Linked DNA regions of Homo sapiens: regions 1, 2, 3, 4, 6 and 7 are each linked to region 5. Evidence: promoter capture Hi-C in 16 types of primary human blood cells and fetal thymus (Javierre and others, 2016). All regions are on one chromosome and are shown on one strand. The core of a region is centred on a gene start or on the middle of the fragment in contact, and the rest is flanking DNA. Distances in the headings are between cores, read along the strand shown.

Region 1 (2,998 bases), core at 13-2,512, 1.2 Mb before region 5:
TTTCTAAAAATTTAACTGCAAACATTCCTTTATTTAGGAACTGGCAAACCAAAGCTCCTTAGGAAGCTGCATCTCGAACTAAAAGGTAGCTTCCTCATCAGTAAATTGGGATAACCTTGGTCAGACCTGCACATAAAGATGCAAGGAAGATAAAATGAGATGAATATGAAAGTGTTTTGTGTACTTTGGAGGTATTAGTCTTATCATAATAAAGAACCCCCAAGTTGAAACATGGTAATTTCTGGATAAATAAGTTGGCTCAACTTCTTAATAGGAAAACAGACTCACTGCCAATTTAGCTCTGGAACTCGAGACATTAAAATAATAATTTCAAGCAACTAGGTTTCCTAGCAAGCTGGTTGAAATCACTTAGAGGATTAGCTTTTCACCCCTGGAATTTAAATCAGGAGATTGTTTGAGTGAAAGACAGTCTGTCATCCATGTTTTAACATACATGGCAACATCACAAGCCTCTCTGAAGATTCTACCTCTATTTTTTTTTTAAGGTTACAGAGTGGCATGGGTGTATTATGAAGAAGGAAGTCACATAGCTTCCTTGTTGCACATATTCAATCTTCTATTAATATAGCATCCCTTTGCTAGATGATTACATTTCCTTGATCACTTGGGAGTGTGGAAAAGGAAGGAGGGTTATTTGATACGCATCTTTCCTTCTATTCTACCATGTTTCTCTGGCTTTATTTAGATAAAAGGGTAAACAGCTGAGAAACTCCACTTCAGCTGGGGGGAAAAACCCACAAAAATGCTCCAAATAAAATATCTCTATCTCCTTTCTAAAAAATTTTTAGGTCAGATAAAAACAGAATACTGGCTACTATTTGTGTTTATTTCATTTTATTTATTTATTTATTTATTTATTTATTTATTTTGAGACTGAGTTTCACTCTTGTTGACCAAGATGGAGTGCAATGGCACGATCTTGGCTCACTGCAACCTCAGCCTCCAGGTTCAAGTGATTCTCCTGCCTCAGCCTTGCGAGTAGCTGGGATTACAGGCGTGCACAACCACGCCAGGCTAATTTTTTGTATTTTTAGTAGAAACGGGGTTTCACTATGTTAGCCAGGCTGGTGTCGAACTCCTGACCTCAGGTGATCTGCCCACTTCGGCCTCCCAAAGTGCTGGGATTATAGGCTTCAGCCACTGCTCCTGACCTTATCTTTATTTTATATACAACATTAAAATGGCAGTAGACAAAACAGTACAGAGGTATCTTCAGGGAACAGGTAGCTATCACAATAAATATCTAACAGTGCTATGAAAAAAGGTACAGCAGCTTAAGAGGATTGGGGAGTGCTAGATGGTGACTGGGAAAAAGCAGGGATGCTGCTATTTTTTACAGGGTGACCAGGGAAGGCTATCTGACATCAGATGACTTTTGAGCAGAGACCTGAAGGGACAGAGTGAGCTGTGATTTCACATGTCTTTTTTTTAACATTCGTTTAAAGTCCAGTACAAACAAGGAGATCTGCTGTAAAACTTCAGGAAAGTCAAATCTGCAAATATTAAGGCTTTATACAATACTCTGAACCAGCTCTCAATTTATTTCAAGTAATCCTTGACCTGTTTAGCTACAGTTAAGTATTTTTCCTAAAATGCTTCACAGTATTTCTTCACATAATAATTAAAGAGAGTTTTCCAGTTATATGTGCAAACAACCCAGGTAGATAATTCAGGTAGAATTTTCCATTCTGAGACCCTGATGATTTGATTTGGCAGAGGGCATATGGTAGGAAGAAGGTGCTAAAGCTAGCTGATTTTGCCACTGGCCACGTGTAAAAGTTCAAAGGAAATTGGATAGTTAGCCAGGTTTCAGAATAGTGAGTTTTAAAGTTCTTCTTTTAATTAAAAACCAAATAAAACAATAATAAAACCTCCCCCAAAATGGCAACAAACAACAACAAATCAAGTAAAGTAGGTATCATATGTCTTCTTTATTATTATTATTTTTTTGAGATGGAGTTTATATTATTTTTTTTTTTGAGATAGGTTTTGCTCTTACCACCCAGGCTGGAGTGCAATGGCGCAATCTTGGCTCACTGCAACCTCCACCTCCTGGGTTCAAGAGATTCTCCTGCTTCAGCCTCCTGGGTAGTTGGGATTACAGGCACCCGCCACCACGTCCAGCTAATTTTTTGTTTTTTTTTAGTAGAGGCAGGGTTTCACCATGTTGGCCAGGCTGGTCTCGAACTCTTGGCCTCAAGTGATCTGCCTGCCTCGGCCTCCCAAAGTGCTGGGATTACAGGTGTGAGTCACCACACCTGGCCCCAGATACATTTAAAAACCTTTACAGTGATTTGACCAGATTATATTTCTTAAACTGACATAGAAAACTGGAATTCATTCATTCAACAAATAAGGATGCTCAAAAAGTGAGGAAACATAGGATCAATTTATTTTTCAACAGTATATTAATTATACTTTTGAATAATATGCTCAACATCTTTTTCTGTCAACCTCCAGATATGTTTCCAGTTGAAGTAATTCCAAATTTAAAGCAATGAGATCAGTTGTTAACCTGGAGAAAAATACAATAAATGCACCATGGAGTATGCCTAAAGTCTGGAAACTGAAGGAAAATAATGTATTTATTATGTTGTTTTTCAGATAAACAATTATGCTCATTGTTTTAAATTGGGAGATACTTTGTGCGAGAGGTGTTTGCAAGTTGACAAAATATACACTGAGCATATTATTTGAAAACATAACAGTATATATATTTTTAAGTTTCTTGAGTTTTTGGACTCCCTGTATTTGTCAAGTTTCTACTATGCGCCAGGCACTGTGGTAGGCATGAGGTATGCAATGGTGAACAAACATGGCTCCTTGTGATTAGCATCTACTCACAGGCACAGAACATAGATCTTCATTTCCAGGTTGAAATGACATCTATAATATTTTGACAGCAAAATATCAATGACTACTTTTAAGGAATAAAAGCAGTCATTAAGAGTGAATGAATGAACAAAAGAGAAAGGAA
Region 2 (3,170 bases), core at 388-2,887, 1.3 Mb before region 5:
CACTATTTTGAAAACTAAAAGCCTACTATCAGAGTCAAGTAGAGAAATAAATGTCAAACAGAAAAGAAGGGTATGGTCACAAGGGAGGTGAGAAAGAAGCCCAAGGTCATGTAGAGAGAGCTGGGATACTCTTTTTTTTTTTTTTTAGAAAGGCAAGGAATATCATGGGGCTATTCCATGCAATAGAAAATGGAACAGTTCCATTTCCCTCCTTTGTCCTTTCTCTCGCCTCTTCCTTCAAAATAGTTAAATAGCTATTTCTCATCATTAAAAACAAAGACAAGCAGCTAACAGATGTAAGACTTCTCAATCATCATTGTCAAGAGAACATCTGACCCAAAGGATAAGGGCTATACTTAGGGAATGGAATCTGATGCTCTCAGCATTCAGTAAACTTGGTCCTGATGTCTTCAAAGCTTTGACAAGTCAACAAACATCTTGAGACCTGATTTTAAAAAATAGCCACTATTTGCCTTCCAAAGATGGTCTAAGGATGTTTTAAAACAGAAAAGAATTTCACGACCATAAAGAATTAAAGCTCCTATTGCAACGTACCAATTGGCATTGCTGCTTCCACTGGGACTAAACAGACTTTCTTGAAGCTAACCAGTGACAAATGGAATTGAAACAATATGTTAATAACAAAACCTGAGTTTCATCTTCTTTTTGAGCTTGCGAGAGCTCTAGCCTTCTGAACGGCAGACAATTTTGCCAAGTTATTGACCAACGTTTCCAGCTGCTTCGGTAGCAGCTTCTAACCAGTCCCCACATAAAGCCTCCAATACCATACACATAGCGTGTGTGCGTGCACACATTCGCACACAGCATGTGTAGTGGTCTATGGAGCATGACAGTTTTTCTAGGTAAAGCTTGTTCCCCAAATTCAAGTATGGCCTTATTCATATAACACAGTGATATAATGAGGGGTTCCTTTGTGAAATTTACTTTCTAGGTTCATTCACTGCATTCATTCATTCATCCTTATATTTAAAGTTGTTATTGAACGGTTCTGGGGAATGCCAAAAGGAGCCAACTGACATTTATTCCATTAAAAGCCAGAACTTAGAAAGAAATGTAGCCACCGGGTGCAGTGGCTCATGCCTGTAATCCCAGCACTATAGAGGCTAAGGTGGGTGGATTACTTGAGGTCAGGAGTTCGAGACCAGCCTGATCAACATGGTGAAACCCCATCTCTACTAAAAATACAAAATTAGCCGGGCATGGTGGCGCATGTCTGTAATCCCAGTACTTGGGAGGCTGAGGCAGGAGAATTGCTTGAACCTGGGAGGCAGAGGCTGCAGTGAACCAAGATCATGCCATTGCACTCCAGCCTGGGCAACAAGAGCGAAACTCCATCTTAAAAAAAAAAAAAATTCCATTATTCATCTCCTTGCTTTCTTTCGTGGTGGCACGTGTAAAAATTATATGTGATTTAGCCTTCGGCTGATCATTTGTTTTCATTTTGAGCACAGTAGAAAACACTGGCTTCGGGATTCAAGAAACAGAATGGCCCCTGACCCATACATTTATGATAACTAGCAAACTTTTTGTAGGTTTTTTTCTCCCTGCTCTCATAATGTTTTGATCCCTGCTACCTGTCTCTTATTAAGGTGCCTTTCTCTTTTGCCCACAGCCAACAACCTCCAAACCTTTCAAAATTTGTTGCTTCCGGTATTAGGCAACCATTCTTTGAAAAAGTTTGTCTAAAAGTACACAGAAGCTGGGCATATGCCTATACTCTCAGCTACCTGGTGGCTGAAGTGGGAGGATTGCTTGAGCCCAGGAGTTTGAGACCAGCCTGGGCAATACAGCAAGACCCTGTCCCAAAAAAAAATCTATGTAGTAATTATGGCATGGACAAGGGCTTAAGGACTTCTCCTATAAGCACAGTAACCACTGGTGAAATAAGATAGCATACAGTGTGAGAAGGTGTTATTCAAACTAAAGAGAAGGTTTATTATTTCGTTATGCTATTTTGGCCACTTGGGGATCATTTCATTTTCTACTGGTCTGTATGCTGCTTCCAGGATAGCTAAGGATTATTATCTTGATTGACCTTGACATATACATAAATGAGCCATAACTATGTTTCTGTAAAGAGCTTAATAAGTCAGCACAGTATATGAAGGTCCAGAGGCAGTGAAGAGTGGACGGTTTTGCTAGAAGACAGATTCTTCCAAAGAAGCAACAACAGATGGCAATGGTGTCTGAATCCTATTTTCAAGAATTACACATTTCAGGCAGAAAACTGTGGGCTTATCACTACAGGCAATGGGAAGCTGCAAAAGACATGAATGGAGACTGCCACAAGATACTTCTGGGTCTTAAAGAAGATTAATATGGTAGTGATGGTCAGGAAAAAGATAAAGAACCTGAGAGGGGCCAATTAGTACACTGTCCCTAAGAAAGCTTACACATAGTGACTTGGGGAGGGAAAGTAAAAGGAACTAATAGGAAAGGAAGAAATTGGGCCAAAGACAGTTTTGAGTATTAGGTGATTGACATACCAATACATAAGTACCTTAGGGCAACTCAGAAGGGGAGTGAGGATTTGAGGGATTTCAGGAGAATGAGTTTAATCAGATACATATTGAGGTTGTAACTGTATATCAGGTCTGGTATGATTCCTATTATTCATAATTTTCTTGAACCAAGTCACCAAATCAAAATCATGCAAATAGAAAACAGTAATTGTCAGGGCCTGCCATTGAAAATGAAGTATAAGGTCATATCCCTAATTACATTTTTTTCTCCAATGCAATCCCACTCTAGTTCCTATATGAAGACTACCATGGCATTGTAAGATCCCTATGAAAAAGTATTTCTTGTGTGAACATGCCCAGGGAAGTTAGAAATCCTCTGATCACCAAAAGCCAGAACAGATACTGATTTGTGAAGTCAGTTAGGCCAACATTCCCTAGGTGTCCCCTGCTGCTAAGTGCCATCCGTGGGCTACAAACTGCTTAACAGCTTCTTTGTTAAACTGCTTGTTAACAAGGCCTTAGTGCATGGAAGATGCAGATCACAGGTTCTCCATTCAAAAGCTACTCCAATTCTCCCAGACTACATATGCAGGTGAATTAAATTTAACTACAGACTAATTTAGCAGTACAGAAACATGTCACACATCCATTCTTTTCACAATACAAAATATACCACCCTTATGGATA
Region 3 (3,142 bases), core at 443-2,942, 1.4 Mb after region 5:
GGTCACCAATAAATTCCCATCACAAAATCCAATGGCTGATTCTATTCTATCTCAAATGAAACTGTTCTAGCCAGGTGTAGTGGCTCATGCCTGTGATCCCAGCTCTTTGGGGAGGCCTAGGCAGGTGGATCACCTGAGGTCAGGAGTTCGAGACCAGCCTGATCAACATGGTGAAACCCCATCTCTACTAAGAATACAAAAGTTAGCCAGGTGTGGTGGCATGCACCTGTAATCCCAGCTACTTGGGAGGCTGAGGCATGAGAATCGCTTGAACCCGGGAGGCAGAAGTTGCAGTGAGCTGAGATCGTGCCACTGCACTCCAGCCTGGGTAACAAGAGCGAGACTCCGTCTCAAAAAAAAAAAAAAAAAAAAGAAAAGAAAGAAAACTGTTCTAGCTACAGAAAAATTGCTAAATAGCTAGTTTTTACAAAGCCACCCAATCAGATTCATTTGGCACAGGAGATCATTTCCTCCTTTTGTGAAAAAAATTTTAACTTGGCTTCTACAACCTCACCCTTTCCTGTTGTTCCCCATTGCTGACTGCCCACTACTGTTTAGTCTCCTGTGCTGATTATTTCTCATTTTCCCCATGCGTATGTTGAAGAAAAGTGTCCTAGGGCTCAATCCTCAATCCTCAGACATCACCCCTTTGTAGAAACTCATTTTCCAAGTGATCTTATTCAGTTCTAAGTTTATATGTCTAGTGCAAAGCTCTCCTCCAAATTCCAGATTCATGCCTACTGGACATCTCCACATAGATGTCTAATATTACATTCAAACTTACAGGTCCAAAAAAATACACTATTTCCCCACCCCCTTGCTTTCCTGTAGTCTTTCACATCTCAGACACAGCAACTCCATTCTCATAACTCAAGTTAAAACCTTAGAGTCATCCTTGACTTTCGTTTTTCCCCCATACCCAAATTCACTACATCAGAAACTCTTTTCAGATCTACCTCAAAAACACATAATCCACATCTACCATTACCACCCAGTTCACTGCAATCATCCCTTCACTATATATATATATATATATATACTATATACATATACTATATATAAAATATGCATATACTATATATACTCTATATACTATATATAGTATATACATACTCTATACATATACTATATATACTCTATATATACTCTATATACTATATAGAGTATATATATACTATATATAGTGTATATATAGTATATATATACTCTATACTCTATATACTATATATACACTATATATACTATGTATACTATATATATTATATATAGTGTATATATAGTGTATATATAGTATATATAGTACATATACACTATATATGTGTACTATATATATACACACATATATATATACACACACACACACACACACACACACACACACATATATATATTCTGGATATATTTCTGAATAGACTCCATATATATATATATGTTCTGAAAAGACCATAAATGTATTCACTATACATATATATACATATATATATTCTGGATATATTTCTGAATAGACTATACATATTCTGGATATATTTCTGAATAAACTATATATATATGTCTTTTTTTTTTTTTGAGACAGAGTCTTGCTGTGTTGCTCAGGCTGGAGTACAACAGCACGATCTCAGCTCACTGCAATCTCTGCCTCCCAGGTTCAAGCCATTCTCCCGTCTCAGCCTCCCGAGTAGCTGGGATTACAGGCATGCACCATCACACCCGGCTAATTTTTGTATTTTTAGCAGAGATGGGGTTTCGCCAGGTTGGCCAGGCTGGTCTCGAACTCCTGACCTCAGGTGATCTGCCCACCTTGGCCTCCCAAAGTGTTGGGATTACAGGCGTGAGCCACTGCGCCCAGCCAATCGCTTCACTATATTATACAACTAGTTTCCCAACTGGTCTCTCTGTGACTACATTTGCTATTCTACAGTCCATTTTTCATAAAGCAGTCAGAAAGATCCTTTTAAAATATGTTAAATAATGCCACCCATCTATTTCAAATATGATTTCCATGTGATTTAGAGTAAAATCACCAGTCCTTCTGTTGCCCCACATGGCCCAAAGTGATTAGTAGCACTCCCTCTTTCTCACCAACCTTGACCCCATCTCCTACCACTCTCCTCCTCCACCAGTAGGCACTATGGTTTGAATGTGTCCTCCAAAGTCATATGTTGAAATCTTGGTCCACAGTGCAGTAGTGTCAGGACCTTAATGAGAGGTGTCTGAGTCATGGGCACCACCCTCATTAATGGATTAACGCCATTATCTTGAGGATGAGTTTATTATTATTGTTATTATTTTATTTTTCAGATGGAGTCTCACTCTGTCACCCAGGCTGGAGTGCAGTGGCGCGATCTCAGCTCACTGCGACCTCCGCCCTCCAAGTTCAAGCGATTCTCCTGCCTCAGCCTCGCAAGTAGCTGGGATTACAGGCGCCTGCCACCTCGCCCAGCTAATCTTTTGTATTTTTAGTAGAGATGGGGTTTCATTATCTTGGCTAGGCTGTTCTTGAACTCCTGACCTTGTGATCCACCCAACTGAGCCTCCCAGGCGGCATGAGCCAGCGCGCCTGGCCGAGAGTGAGTTTATTTTAAAAGGATGAGTTCAATACCGTCTCATGCTTTACCTTATTTTGACCTTCACCTTCCACCATGGGATGGCAGCAAGAAAGCCCTCTCCAGATGTGAGTCCCTTGATCTTGGACTTTGCAACCTCCAGAAATATTAGTTAATACATTTTTTTACCATAAATTATCCAGTCTGTGGTATTCTGTTATAGCAGCACAAAGTGAACTAAGACATTATACCACAGTCACCATGGCCTTTCTGCTCTTCTTGAAGACACTAAGCATGAGTGTCCTCAAGGCTCTGGCCTTTGTATTTCTCTCTTCTTAAAACCCTATTCCCGCGGGTACTTACATGTCTTGTTCTGTTACTTCTTTCAGATCTCTGCTAAAATGTCAGCTTATCAGAGGCTTTCCCTGACCACCCCACACAAGGTCCTTCCTCAGTCATCATTCTCTATCATTCTGGCCCTGCTTCATTTTTCTCACTAGTACCTGTCATCTCCTGACATATACTTATTTACTTGTCTCTATTCACTAGAATGGAAGGTCATGAGGGCAGCAAAGTGGTCTGTTTTCATTTTAACTACT
Region 4 (3,130 bases), core at 631-3,130, 1.3 Mb before region 5:
ATCTGCCCGCCTCGGTCTCCCAAAGTGCTGGGATTACAGGTGTGAGCCACCGCGCCCGGCCCTATATAACTTCATACTTTTTAAAGGGGGCCTATTTTTCAGCTTATTATTGTCAAGGAATGTCAGCCCCTAACACTTAAATGTGTACCAAGTTATGTTTAATTCTTTTATTTATTTTTTTTGAGACAGAGTCTTGCTCTGTCACTCAGGCTGGAGTGCAGTGGTATGATCTCGGCTCACTGCAACCTCCGCCTCCCAGGTTCAAGTGATTCTCCTGCCTCAGCCTCCCGAGTAGCTGAAATTACAGGCACATGCCACCATGCCTGGCTAATTTTCGTATTTTTAGTAGAGACAGGGTTTTGCTATGTTGGCCAGGCTGGTCTCGAACTCCTGACTTCAGGTGATCCACCTGCTTTGGGCCTCCCAAAGTGCTGGGACTGCAGGTGTGAGCTACCACACCTGGCCAAATTATGTCTATTTCTGATATTAAATTTAAAACTCCTAGCACTGGGCCTGGCAGACAAAAGGTGCTTACTCAGTCTCACCCACCATTCTTCCTCAACTCCCCTTTATTGCCGGCCTTATCTTTGACAAGTCCACAGAAGCCGGGGGGGTAGCTTTGCCGTACCCTTCCTTGTCACTGCAGTGTCTGGCACAAGTTATTCCTGGCAGGAAGCAGCTACTAAGCCTTTCCTGTCTACATTACAGAAGCATTACCTTCATCAAAGGGCTGGATGTCAGTAGTTTGACTATAAAACTAGCCATGCAACAGCAACATTTCTATAATCCAAAGACTTGTTGCAAATAATTTGCATAATGTCCTAGGTTCTAGGCCTAATCTTGCCTTTAGAACCTATGTAATGTTTGGCATTTAGCCTTTTGGTAATTCAAGTTTCCTCATTTGTGAAATGCAATCATATCATCCACTCTATATAGCTCAGGGTCATTTTAAAGATAAAATGTGGATAACTGGTATGACTGTGCTTTGAAAACATTAAAGTAGGCCAGGGGCAGTGGCTCACACCTGTAATCCCAGCACTTTGGGAGGCCAAGGCAGGTGGATCACCTGAGGTCAGGAGTTTGAGACCAGCCTGTCTCACAAAAATTAGCTGGGCGTGGTGGCAGGCGCCTATAATCCCAGCTACTCATGAGGCTGAGGCAGGAGAATCGCTTAAACTCAGGAACCTGAGAGGCAGAGGTTATAGTGAGCTGATATCGCGTCATTGCACCCCAACCTGGGTGACAAGAGTGAAACTCCATCTCAAAACAAAACAAAAAACTAGGAAAAAAAAGAAAACATTACAGTAATATTTTAGAATCTAAATAAAAAGTATTCAGCTGTTTTTGAGCTACTGTCACAGGGAAATTCAGGAAGATGTTTAAAAAAAAAAATGAGCTTGTGGCCAGGCGTGGTGGCTCATGCCTATAATCCCAGCACTTTGGGAGGCTGAGGCGGGTGGATCACCTGAGGTCAGGAGTTCGAGACCAGCCTGGCCAATATGGCGAAACCCCATCTCTACTAAAAATACAAAAATTAGCCAGGTATGGTGGTATGCACCTGTAATCCCAGCTACTGGGGAGGCAGAGGCAGAAGAATCACTTGAACCCGGGAGATGGAGGTTGCAGTGAGGTGAGACTGCGCCATTGCACTCCATCCTGGGCGACAAGGGCGAAACTCCACCTCAAAAAAAAAAAGAGCTTGTAAAGTGTGTGGGCCAATTTTGGTATCTTAGAATACATACAGAATAATTCAAGCGTACAATATCTTTCAGACACAATCCAGTTGTACACTCCTTCCTCCAATCAATTTCCTTCTCTTCAAAACAGGGTAATAAAACCTATCCCTAAAGACTGCACTGTAAATATATTTTATGCACATGCACTCACCTCACACATGTGTTTGTTTTGCTAGTGTTTGGTATTTAAGTGAGGTTCCTTCCTTCCCTTGATCCATGGTTTTGAATAACACACAACTCCTACTCATGCTGAATTGCAATTTTTTTTTTTTTTGAGATGGAGTCTTGCTCTGTTGCCCAGGCTGGAGTGCAGTGGCGCAATCTTGGCTCACTACAACCTCTGCCTCCTGGGTTCAAGCAATTCTCTTGCCTCAGCCTCCCGAGTAGCTGGGATCACAGGCCCATGCCCAGCTAATTTTTGTATTTTTAGTAGAGCCGCGGTTTCGCCATGTTGCCTGGGCTGGTCTCGAACTCCTGACCTCAAATGATCTGCCCACCTCAGCCTCCCATAGTGCTGGAATTATAGGCATGAGCCACTGCGCCTGGCTTGAATTGCAATTTTTTGAATACACTTTTTAGTAGCTCCTTTTTTCAAATACCCCATAATCCCTAGATTACGTACCTGTGATATTGGACAATGCCAAAGAATCCATCGAATCCCGAACACTTTGCTCTGGTTTCAGGTCTGACAGACACTCCAGGGAATCTTCATACCACTGTGTTTCATCATGATTATACCCTGAAGCCCCATGGTCCAGTTCCAATTCCTGAAGCCTTCTACTGCTTGCAGGGCCTGGGTGGCTGCCATAAGCAGAATCGCCCAGTCCATCTTGTGACTGTGCCCAGTACATATCAGACTGGTATTTTTTACTTGCAAGGCTCTGGTTATTTTGCTTTAACTCGGTCTTACTTTTAACCATGTTATCAGATATCCAGTGCTCACTGGCTCGAATATCCATCTCATTGGGCTGTGGCTGAAAGAGGCTTTTATCACCAAACTTGAGGAGGAGCTGCGTCATATAATCTTCATGATCAGCCCATTCTTCAGGGTCTTCTGGAGTTTCCTGCTCTACTCTGCCTTTCCAAAATTCTTCACTGGCAAAACTTGTTCCTTGTCTGGAGAGACTCAGATCATCCAATTTTCGAGAAAGGGTGTCATCAGCATTGCCTGAGAGGCCAGGAAACTTGTAGTTCAGAGCAGGCGATAAGAGGAGAGACTGTCTACACTGATCTGCTGACCGGCTGCTCTTGCCCATTCGGACACTTCTTCGGGAGTCTCTTGATCGAGCTGACTGAAATGCAGAGTCGGAAGAATCAGAGGCATGGACGTCTTCACCAAGACTGCACGTTTTTGAGCAGTAAATCTGACCCTGTTTGGGAAGGAAGGGACATCC
Region 5 (3,085 bases), core at 172-2,671:
TCTTTTGAAAAATATTGAAAACCTGCTTTCATTCTCTAATTCAGTTTCAAGCTTATGACAGACACTCCTTCATCAATTCACTTTCTGTATTTTCCCGTTAAAAACAACAGTATATATCAAATATCCTAACTTGTTTAAAGAAAAAGACAATAAAATGCATTCAGTCTTAACTCTGGTTATATTTTTCTAACTTGCATTTCTCAAAAGCTAGATTAAACTCATTGAATAAATATGTATTTAATAACTAACCCTTGTGTTCCTATTAAAGCTTCAATTTCGTTCTAATTTCGTTCCTGTGTTGTCTATTAGCAGCAAGAACCACTATGTAAGTAGGTAGTGCTTGCTATAAGGCTCAAGCATGAGAGTCAATAACTACATATTTATATATCGAAATTAATGCGGATAAATAAAACAAAGTTTTCAGATTTGAGACTATTTTGCTTCTGCGTGCGTGCAGGGGGATGTGTGCGGTGGTGTCAAAAATCTTTACGAATAAAACATACAATTAAGTGTTCATCTGGGAGAAAGACTCGCTATTAACAGTAAGAGCTTGAGTTTACACTAGAACTCGTTAAGTGATCGCGAGTAACCCGGGGATATATTATTTGACTCTTGATGAGGTGAGTACCTGCAGGCTGCCCAATTTCAAACCAGGAAATAATGGAGGTCAGATATAACTGCATATTGAACTGTCTGCACGCATTACATGCAACCATACAGATCAGTTTCCCTTGGGGAGTATCTAGGAAAAAGATCAAAACACACGCTTACACTCGAGATTTCTCAGAACATAACTCTCATTTTCCTATTTGGAGAGAAAATGCGGGAGAGTTTTGGGAAGCACCCCTACTGATGTGAGAAAGATTCTGGCATGGTTCTTTTTGTAATCAAAGTCCTGTAATATTCTCCTTTGGACCATGAAAAAGAAAACTCGCCTGGTTCTCGACAGCGTACTGAAGCCCCAGTCGCCTCCACTGTCCCAGCTCTTCCCTACGTGACCAAAAGGGGGAAAGTTGGGCGACTGTCGGGGACGGTGGAAGGCACGCCCCCTTCAACCAGGCCGCCTCGAAAGCCAATTTCCTTCGCTCCCCCGAATTTCGGATCAATCTGCAACGTGACGGCAGCAGGGACCGGGCTGGAGGAGGACGCAGGCCGGCAGCGCCCGGGAAGCAGGAGCGCGGAGAGGCGCCGAGGCCCGGCTCGCCCCGCGAGACCGACTTCCGGAGCTCCCGGCCCGACTCCAGCCCTGCCGGTCCTGCAGCCCTCCCGGCTCTCCCGGCTCTCCCGGAAGCCCCTTCCCTGCGAGTCGCGCCGGGCGCTGTTACCTTGGATGCCGGTCTGGTGGGACATGGCGGCGGCCGCTAGCTCCCGGCTCCGGCGCTGAGTGCAGCCAGCGGCCCCGGCCGGCGGCCCCAGGAAGTGGCTGCTCCTCCGCCGGCCCCGGCGCGTCATCCGCCCGCGACCCGCGGCCGCCCCGCCCCGTGAGGTTGACTGAGTGCCCGAGCGTCCCCGCCGCCCCGCCGCCCTTCCTGGCCGCCGGGCTGCGGTCCAGCCCCCGGCCTCGCTATCCTAGTTCTCTGCTTGGGGTCCTGCTTCTGCTCTTGCCGCCGCCTCTCCCGCTTCTTCCGGGGGGGACATGCCGCAGAATCTAGACTGCTCAGTGCTCCGACGTCTGCTCTCTGACAACCCCGCCGACGCCGCCATTCGCTGCCTCAGCAAAGGGGTGCTCAAAAACGGAAGTGATCATTTTACCAAATAGGCATTTTCCAGCTTAAAAAAGATGTGCACATTATTTTTCTTGGTTTACTCTTCCTATAATCGATACCGTTTAGTGTAGAAAAGCCTTCTCCTTGCTCCATTGTTTTGAAAGAATTAATATAGACTGCCTCTCATCAAATTTTTCCACGATTTTAAATTAAGTTAATCTCAGACTGTTAACTTTTCTTTTCAGCTGGACACATTTAGAGACTCAGTGTATCTTTCTCTTCACTCCGGAAAGAGACAGCCACTAAGAGATTAGCTGATTTGAGTATCCCTCTGTGGTCGATTATACCATTGCAAATCCTGCTCTGCTTTAGGTTGGCAGTTTATTATTTAATCCAGTAATTATTCAAAATTCACTTGGACAGATTTGTAAGGTAGCAGCAGATATTACTTAAAAATCTTTTCCTTTCCTGCTTTTACAAACATGTAGTTCCTTCCTGAAAGGTAATGTTAGTTTTGTGGGGGGTTTGGTTTTTTTTTGGTACTGCTTCTCTACTGCTACTAGGTGGGAAGCTAGTTCTTATTTTTAGGGCCTTGAAGTGACACATACACAAAATTATAATCTGCTAATGAAGAAATAATTTATTCAGGTCAATAATATAAGTGCAAGTTAATCACTGTTCCAGTACTATACGATGTATTTTTCATGAGTGATGAACAGGCCTGCAATTGTTTTTCTTTACAAGAATCACAGCAAACAAGGTTATGTTCTATTGCCTGTTATCTGAGCTCTGTTTTTCAGACATATTCTCATATTCAGGAATAAACTAAATCTGAGTTTTATGACTTGTATGGATTTAAGAAATGTAGGGAGGAGTTTCATTCTAATCAAATTCTTCCTGACACAATGGTTCACCCTGATTTACCAGTTTTTGACTACATTGCTGAGCAGAGAGAAAATTGCAGAGTTGACTTGCAGTATTTTGACTGATTCATGTCCTAGTGCTTCGGGGAAATTGCTTAAGGAAGTTGGCGTTGCTCAAAAGTATAGTTGAGCAAAATATAATCCTTCCATATTCGTGCTTGGGAAAGGCCACTGTATTCTCAGTCCTGAAGAAGAGGAATGTCTAGTTAGGTTGGGACCACCCTGACAGCCACCAGAAAGTGCTTATTTACTGCCAGTACAATAGTTTGACTTAAAAGCTGCAAGCGTCTTGGGTACCTTGCTCTGCTCTAGCCACAAATATTTTCCCACTTTTCTTCATCTATTGTGTCTCCATTTAGTGAACATTTGCCAGAGCTGTCATGAGAATAATACCTTAGATTTGTATGGTAGTTTACAGTTTACAAATAATATATAATAGACTTATTTTGAGTACCA
Region 6 (3,109 bases), core at 498-2,997, 1.4 Mb before region 5:
TTGCTAACATGGGGAAGAGGATATGCTTGTGTTCACATCCCCTCAGGCCCTCTTTGGATTCCAGCACGACGCATCAAACCATACCATAGTGGGGCTAGGACCCAACCAAGTACCAGAAATGAAGGAAACGACCCTGCAGGCCCCGCAGCCCCCGCAGGCCCCGCAGCCCCTGCAGCCCCGGAAGAAACGGGTTCGTCGGACGACACAGCTTCGTCGGACGACAGGAGCCCCAGACATTACCTGGGGGATGCTGAAGAAGACAACTCAGGAGGCTGAGAGGATCCTGCTCCGAACACAGACACCATTCACTCCAGAAAATTTGTTCCTTGCTATGCTCTCTGTTGTACATTGCAACTCACGCAAGGTATTGGTCCTTTTTATTCTCTCACTTTGCCTGTTACCCGTACCTACTATACCCTATTAAGCCCATTTTCTAAATCTGCCTTTTTTCAGCCCTATTCCCTTCCCAGCGTCTAGCAGTGTGACTTTTTAGCTAGGAGGGACTAACATACCCCCAGTGGGGTTCCTCAGTAACAGCCATATGGAAGGATATGCAAAAAAAAATCTCTCCTAGAAAGACCCCCACTCCTGGGGGTCGCTTCTTAGTTAGAAAAGAATATTACTAATTATACTCATGTTTGTCTCTTGTTGTTTACTAATTCTAGGATGTAAAGCCAGAAAACAAGCAGTAACTGCTATGCCTGACAAAACTGTTGCTGCACACATCTGTACTCGTCAATCAACAAAACCTGATGCAAAAAACAGAAAAGGGGTGATGTAGGAGATGGTCAGGTTGGTAGGAGAAGCTATAAGGAAAGACGCAATTGGAAGGTCGGGAGGTTTTCCAAAGCTTCAGGAGAGAATAAAGCTGAAGGCAGCTTTATTAATTAATTCTCTTACCCTGAGGCTGAGGGCGAACAGTAGGTAGCAAGGGAGTGTAAAGGAATTTATCTAGATAAGTTTGTTTACTTATGCCCTCCGGAAATCATGCAAGACTGCTCCCTGCAAAGGGGGGCGACAATGTTCATTACTCACAAATTGTGTTGGCTTCAGGCCTTTGGTATTCTGTCTCTACTGAATAAATACAAATGGTTCCAGCCTATCAGGACTGCACTCTCTTCTCGGCTGCACTAAAGCTGGCACTCCCCCAGCCGTTCTCATGCAAAATACCTGTGTCAGAATACTCCTTTCATCCATCACTCAGCCAGAGTCTTCAGGACAGACTCCGCATGGGACTTGTCCAAAAAAACTCTAATCAAAAGAGGAAAATTTTGGAATATGCCAGGAATAGTGGAATTTTATTTTTTAAATTTTTTTATAGGCCCATATGCTCTATCTCAAGAAACAAGATGATTGTAACATGTCCATGATTAAACTATTGGCAGATTATTGCTGTGTTAATCTCTGTAGTCTAATGAGTTCTTTGTTCTGTTCTGCTGCCTTTTACGTTTTCTTGTCCTTTCAAAAGTGTTCTTGAAAGAAACAAAGCGAATAGGCAGTTAGCACAGCACAGCTACCCCTTACCAAGCAGTCTATGGAAACAACCCCTCATCCAAATCATGGGTTAGTTAAGAATCTAACTGGGGCAATTAAGATGAATTCCACTCACTTCCTGGTCACTTCAGCAGCCCAGCGGCATTGAGCCAAAATATACAATTCTGTGTTATTAGTGAGGAAACTTTAAAACTCATGTTTGTTATTACTTACTACCCAATTTCATTATCCTCCCTTCCTCTTTCCATTTCTATTCTCTCTCACTTGAATTCTGGCATTATTTTTAGTGGCCTCTACTGATAATACCTACCCTAGAGTACATAAAAATTATATTAAAAGAGGAAGTAGCAGTATGCATAATTTTAACAGATTCTATAATGGGTGCCTCAAAATATGTATTGTGCCATTCCGCAAATTTAAAAGCTAATTGAGGACAATTTTTTTTTAATTTCCTAAATGAGACCACCTTGGATTTTTATTTTTGCCATTTAGATGTTTATACTTATTTAGCTTTTATAAAACATAAGCCAAGCTAAATCCCACATAACAACTCTGGTATTCTTCCCTCATATGAGCAGTGATTTTATTTGTTACCCACCTTAGATAGACTAAGAAAGTTCTAGTCTTGTTTCTCCTTCTCCCCGCTTCCCTGGGGTTTTTCCTTACCATAAGTATTCTGGTCCGAGGGTTCAGTTCCTTTAGTCAAGATGTCACAAGTTTAAAAACAAAACTTGAGAAACTACCAAAGGCTCAGGAGTTGTCCACTTTGTTGAAATCCATTAAATTAGAGAAGTCTCACTAACAGATGTATTTAAATATAGGTACAACAAATAATTTCTTTTTCTCCCCTTCCCCAAATTACAGTCAGCATTTAAAGCTGTTTATGGCTTGCCATCAGCATTATTCTGGTAGGCTTGTTAGTGTTAAAATCTATTTGATTTTTTTTTTTTTTTTTTGCCTCTTAAAGTCTAATTTTAGGATGGATGAATTCAGATGTTTACCAGAGTGTGTATTTTACATAATGTTCTTGATTAAAAAGACTTGTTTGTAAATTATCCGTTGTTTTTGCATATGCCCAGTTGATGTGATAAAATTTTCATTGTCTTGCCATATAAAGCCTTGGTTATCAACAGGTGGAATGTAGATATTGTAAAGCTTTTTGTGAATTAAAAGTGCAAAATAAAGCAACCACATTTAAGTAGATTGTCTTTTCTCTTATTTTAACAGGGTTAACGTATTTTGCTAAAATGTGAGCTTTATTACTCTGTACTGCAAGATTACTTCTTAGTCTTCAGTTCACCTACTCAGCAGCAGGATAGAGGAAGTGTGAGAATTGAAAAACTACAGCAGTGCCCCCTCATCTGTGGTTTTGCTTCCCATGTATAAGTAAACCATGGCTACCATTGTCCAAAAATATTAGATGGAAAATTTCAGAACAACTCGTAAGTTTTCAACTGTGTGCCGTTCTGAATGAAATCTTGCAGCACCGTGCTTTGTCCCACGTGAATCATCCATTTCTCTAGTGTATCCACACTGTATACACTACCCACCTGTTAGTCATCTGTACCATTTACTCCTGACATCCAGCCATTGACTATGTCATGGTTCCATGATC
Region 7 (2,841 bases), core at 249-2,748, 1.4 Mb before region 5:
TCAAATGACCTTTTCAGTTAAAAAAATGTCTAAGCCAGGCACGTTGGCTCATGCTTGTAATCTCAGCACTTTGGGAGGCCGAGGCAGGCGGATAACCTGAGCTCAGGAGTTTGAGACCAGCCTGGCCAACGTGGTGAAATCCTGTCTCTACTAAAAATACAAAAATTACCCGGTTATGGTGTGCGCATTTGTACTGTTAGCTACTCGGGAGGCTGAGGTTGGGGAATCGCTTGAACCCAGGAGGCGGAGGTTGCAGTGAGCCGAGATCGCGGCACTGCACTTGAGCCTGGGTGACAGAGTGAGACTGCATTCCCCCTCGCCCCTCCCAAAAAAGCCTAGATTTAAGTCCCAGCTCAGCATTTATTAATGACTTTGAGCAGGTCACCATCATTCAGTTTTTTAGTTTATGAGTTGGGATAATAAAGCCTCTCTAATCACCTTCATGGAATTCTATTTAATTAAAGTACTTCTTTTGGTTCATAGATAAAAGCACTTTATAAATGGTAGTGCCCCATAAGTTCAGTGCCCAGCACTGTCATCCACAAGAGGTATATTTGGAATCAGTGATGTGACTTTAGAGAAGTAAAGCTTAGTAATAGAAGGTTTTTTAAGAAGAGATGGTTATGCAACTAAGCATGGCAGGGCAAAGCTGATGAAAATGTATACCAAGGAAGTAGAATGGAATCAGAGAATTACCTTAACGGCCCTAAGGAAATAATTTTTAAATTTGTGCTTGACAATTCATATCTTATTTACAAAATAAGCCTTTAAACAGTACTGGGGGAATTATATCTGATCCAGAAAAGACATTTTACTTTCTTCATTTTTATATTGAGCCCATTGGCTGATTGATTTTCAGATATGTTTTAGTATAATAGATTCACATCAGTGAATATGGAAAAGAAAGAAACACTAAGGTACCAAGCATTATTGTGGATACTTCCAGATCTATTACCTCCTTCAATTCTCACAACTGCTTTGCAAAGTGAGCATTATTAACCCCTATTTTGTAAATGAAGAAACCAAGGCTCATGGTGTCGTAAGTTAGGTGTATAAAGTCATCTACCTAGCAAGTCATTAAACTGCGATTCAAAGCCAGGTCTGTATATAACTGCAAAGTCCATACCTTGTTTAGTATTGTGTGCAGTTAGATAAAGGAACTAGTAGTAGGATCAAAAAATGAAATTTAAGTTTAAAAATTTTGTGTAAGGAGTAGGATTTATGTAACTCACTGTACACTGTAATAATAGCATATCTGTACGTTTCTGTTGTATTAGGAGTTTGCTTTACTGAAATTTAGACATTACTTATTTCATTAAATATGCTTAAAGGCACAAAGTTGAAATCAGTATGATGTCTTTTATATTCTAAATATAATTATTATATGAGTTAATTGTCAGTGTCTTTTGCTTTGTTACTTAGATGAATTTCTAGAGTCTTATGTAAATGAAATTAAGAATTAGATCTGGTCTATATGTCCCAAAGGAATTGCTACTTAAAGTAATTCCATGTTGAATATTTTTGAAGGAGGAAATAAAGAATGTACCTGTTCTCCATAGAAATTTGGAGGCTTATATGATTTTAAATGTAAGTGGAGTGTACTTCTTGGTGTATTTGAAGTTTAAAAGCCCTTGAGAATTGTAACAGAAATGTTCTATTTTTATTAGGTGTTAGACAAACCCAGTAGGCTAACTGAAAAGGAACTTGCTGAGGCTGCAAGCAAGTGGGCTGCTGAAAAGCTAGAGAAATCAGATGAAAGTAACTTGCCTGAAATTTCTGAGTATGAGGTAAGGCATAATGTCTCCTTTATGTTTCACATCTGAAAGTTTTGTCTGGATTTTAAATTATGGGCGAAAAATATTTGGTTTATTCCTATACTTCAAAATATATCCTTATGGATTACAGGTATTAAAATTACCACACAGAATGATAGTCAGAATATGAATGACTCTGAATTCAGTAATCACGCTTTGTCTGAATGTTTCCTGTAGTTTTGGTGTGTAAGAATAGTATAAATATGGAGTATAAGAAAAATGCGTTATTTATATACTTCTTTTAATGGGCTTTGCTGTTAAAAGTATCTCAGGAAATCATGCTAAGCCACTAGTTATAAACCAGTGAATTCAGAACAGAAATCTAATTTGACCTTGGATTGTGGACCATATTTATATTGCTTGTTATACTTCATGCAGATTATCTCATAAATATCCCAAGAAATAAAATTATTCATTGTCTGGGCAACCCGAGACCTTGATGAGTCTTGAATACCGAAAGATGGGAACATTTTTGGGACCATAGAAAAAGGTTTATGACACGTTTGTATTAACATATTTTGAAATGAACTGAAAAATTTCTGTATAAACTGTAACATCTCTAAAAGGGAAATATAGAAATTCTGTGGTCACAATTAAGCTTTTAGATTCAGGATTTGATACTATAGGAATTCTTTGACATGACAGGTAGAGAATATAAAAATCCGTCCCGTGACAAATTATTTTTATTTGAAGGAGCATTCTGGCTTTTTGATTTACTTTTGGAATGACTTTTATAGAATGTTCTTTGATAAAAGGGATCAAGCATTGATATTGTATGTAAAAATAATACTTAACTACATCTTTATACAGTGAAAAGATCCTTTCCAAAGTAACTAATGTACACTGCTCATAAAAAGTATAAACCCTATCAGAACTTACGCAAATAGAGCCTTTCTTTTTAAAAATGCTGATCTGTCTTTTAGATATCGATTGTTCTTAAGTGGGTCAAGGTTTCCTCCTTATTGTAGCTATAATAATAGATATTTATGCATATTCTCCAGTAAATGTATCAAAAACACCAAGCTGT

The links. The method cuts DNA at HindIII sites, captures the fragments that hold promoters and counts their contacts. A CHiCAGO score of 5 or more calls a contact.
Region 1: a contact is called between a fragment that was not itself captured here and the fragment with the promoter of TWF1 in region 5, in 1 of 17 cell types (M0 macrophages). The highest score is 5.2, in M0 macrophages.
Region 2: a contact is called between a fragment that was not itself captured here and the fragment with the promoter of TWF1 in region 5, in 5 of 17 cell types (total B cells, naive B cells, monocytes and 2 more). The highest score is 15.8, in total B cells.
Region 3: a fragment that was not itself captured here is called in contact with the fragment with the promoter of TWF1 in region 5 in 1 of 17 cell types (M2 macrophages); the score reaches 5.8 in M2 macrophages.
Region 4: a contact is called between a fragment that was not itself captured here and the fragment with the promoter of TWF1 in region 5, in 2 of 17 cell types (total B cells and M0 macrophages). The highest score is 8.1, in total B cells.
Region 6: a fragment that was not itself captured here is called in contact with the fragment with the promoter of TWF1 in region 5 in 1 of 17 cell types (total B cells); the score reaches 5.3 in total B cells.
Region 7: a contact is called between a fragment that was not itself captured here and the fragment with the promoter of TWF1 in region 5, in 4 of 17 cell types (total B cells, naive B cells, M1 macrophages and 1 more). The highest score is 9.4, in total B cells.

What each region holds. Positions count from the first base shown.
Region 1 is chr12:42,577,890-42,580,887 of GRCh38, forward strand. All of the region lies in intron 1 of PRICKLE1 (prickle planar cell polarity protein 1), which reads right to left. Among named protein-coding and RNA genes, the nearest start is that of PRICKLE1, 10 kb to the right of the region's middle. The HindIII fragment of the contact is 5,978 bases long and covers 1-2,998 here.
Region 2 is chr12:42,478,596-42,481,765 of GRCh38, forward strand. All of the region lies in intron 1 of PRICKLE1 (prickle planar cell polarity protein 1), which reads right to left. Among named protein-coding and RNA genes, the nearest start is that of PRICKLE1, 110 kb to the right of the region's middle. RefSeq lists enhancers at 583-672, 2,682-3,170 and a silencer at 2,168-2,368. The HindIII fragment of the contact is 1,540 bases long and covers 868-2,407 here.
Region 3 is chr12:45,205,656-45,208,797 of GRCh38, forward strand. It overlaps the pseudogene PLEKHA8P1. Among named protein-coding and RNA genes, the nearest start is that of ANO6, 8.9 kb to the right of the region's middle. The HindIII fragment of the contact is 6,012 bases long and covers 1-3,142 here.
Region 4 is chr12:42,462,037-42,465,166 of GRCh38, forward strand. It overlaps PRICKLE1 (prickle planar cell polarity protein 1), which reads right to left. Exons shown (of 8, transcript NM_153026.3): 7 at 2,359-3,130. Among named protein-coding and RNA genes, the nearest start is that of PRICKLE1, 130 kb to the right of the region's middle. RefSeq lists an enhancer at 2,729-3,130. The HindIII fragment of the contact is 5,218 bases long and covers 1-3,130 here.
Region 5 is chr12:43,804,896-43,807,980 of GRCh38, forward strand. TWF1 (twinfilin actin binding protein 1) reads right to left here and starts at 1,422. Exons shown (of 9, transcript NM_002822.5): 1 at 1,326-1,422. The coding sequence starts at 1,350. It also overlaps a transcript of TMEM117 not described here. RefSeq lists a silencer at 1,118-1,597. The HindIII fragment of the contact is 5,668 bases long and covers 267-3,085 here.
Region 6 is chr12:42,445,927-42,449,035 of GRCh38, forward strand. It overlaps a transcript of PPHLN1 not described here. Among named protein-coding and RNA genes, the nearest start is that of PPHLN1, 120 kb to the left of the region's middle. The HindIII fragment of the contact is 1,799 bases long and covers 849-2,647 here.
Region 7 is chr12:42,391,903-42,394,743 of GRCh38, forward strand. PPHLN1 (periphilin 1) reads left to right here. Exons shown (of 10, transcript NM_201439.2): 8 at 1,668-1,787. Among named protein-coding and RNA genes, the nearest start is that of PPHLN1, 67 kb to the left of the region's middle. The HindIII fragment of the contact is 1,824 bases long and covers 587-2,410 here.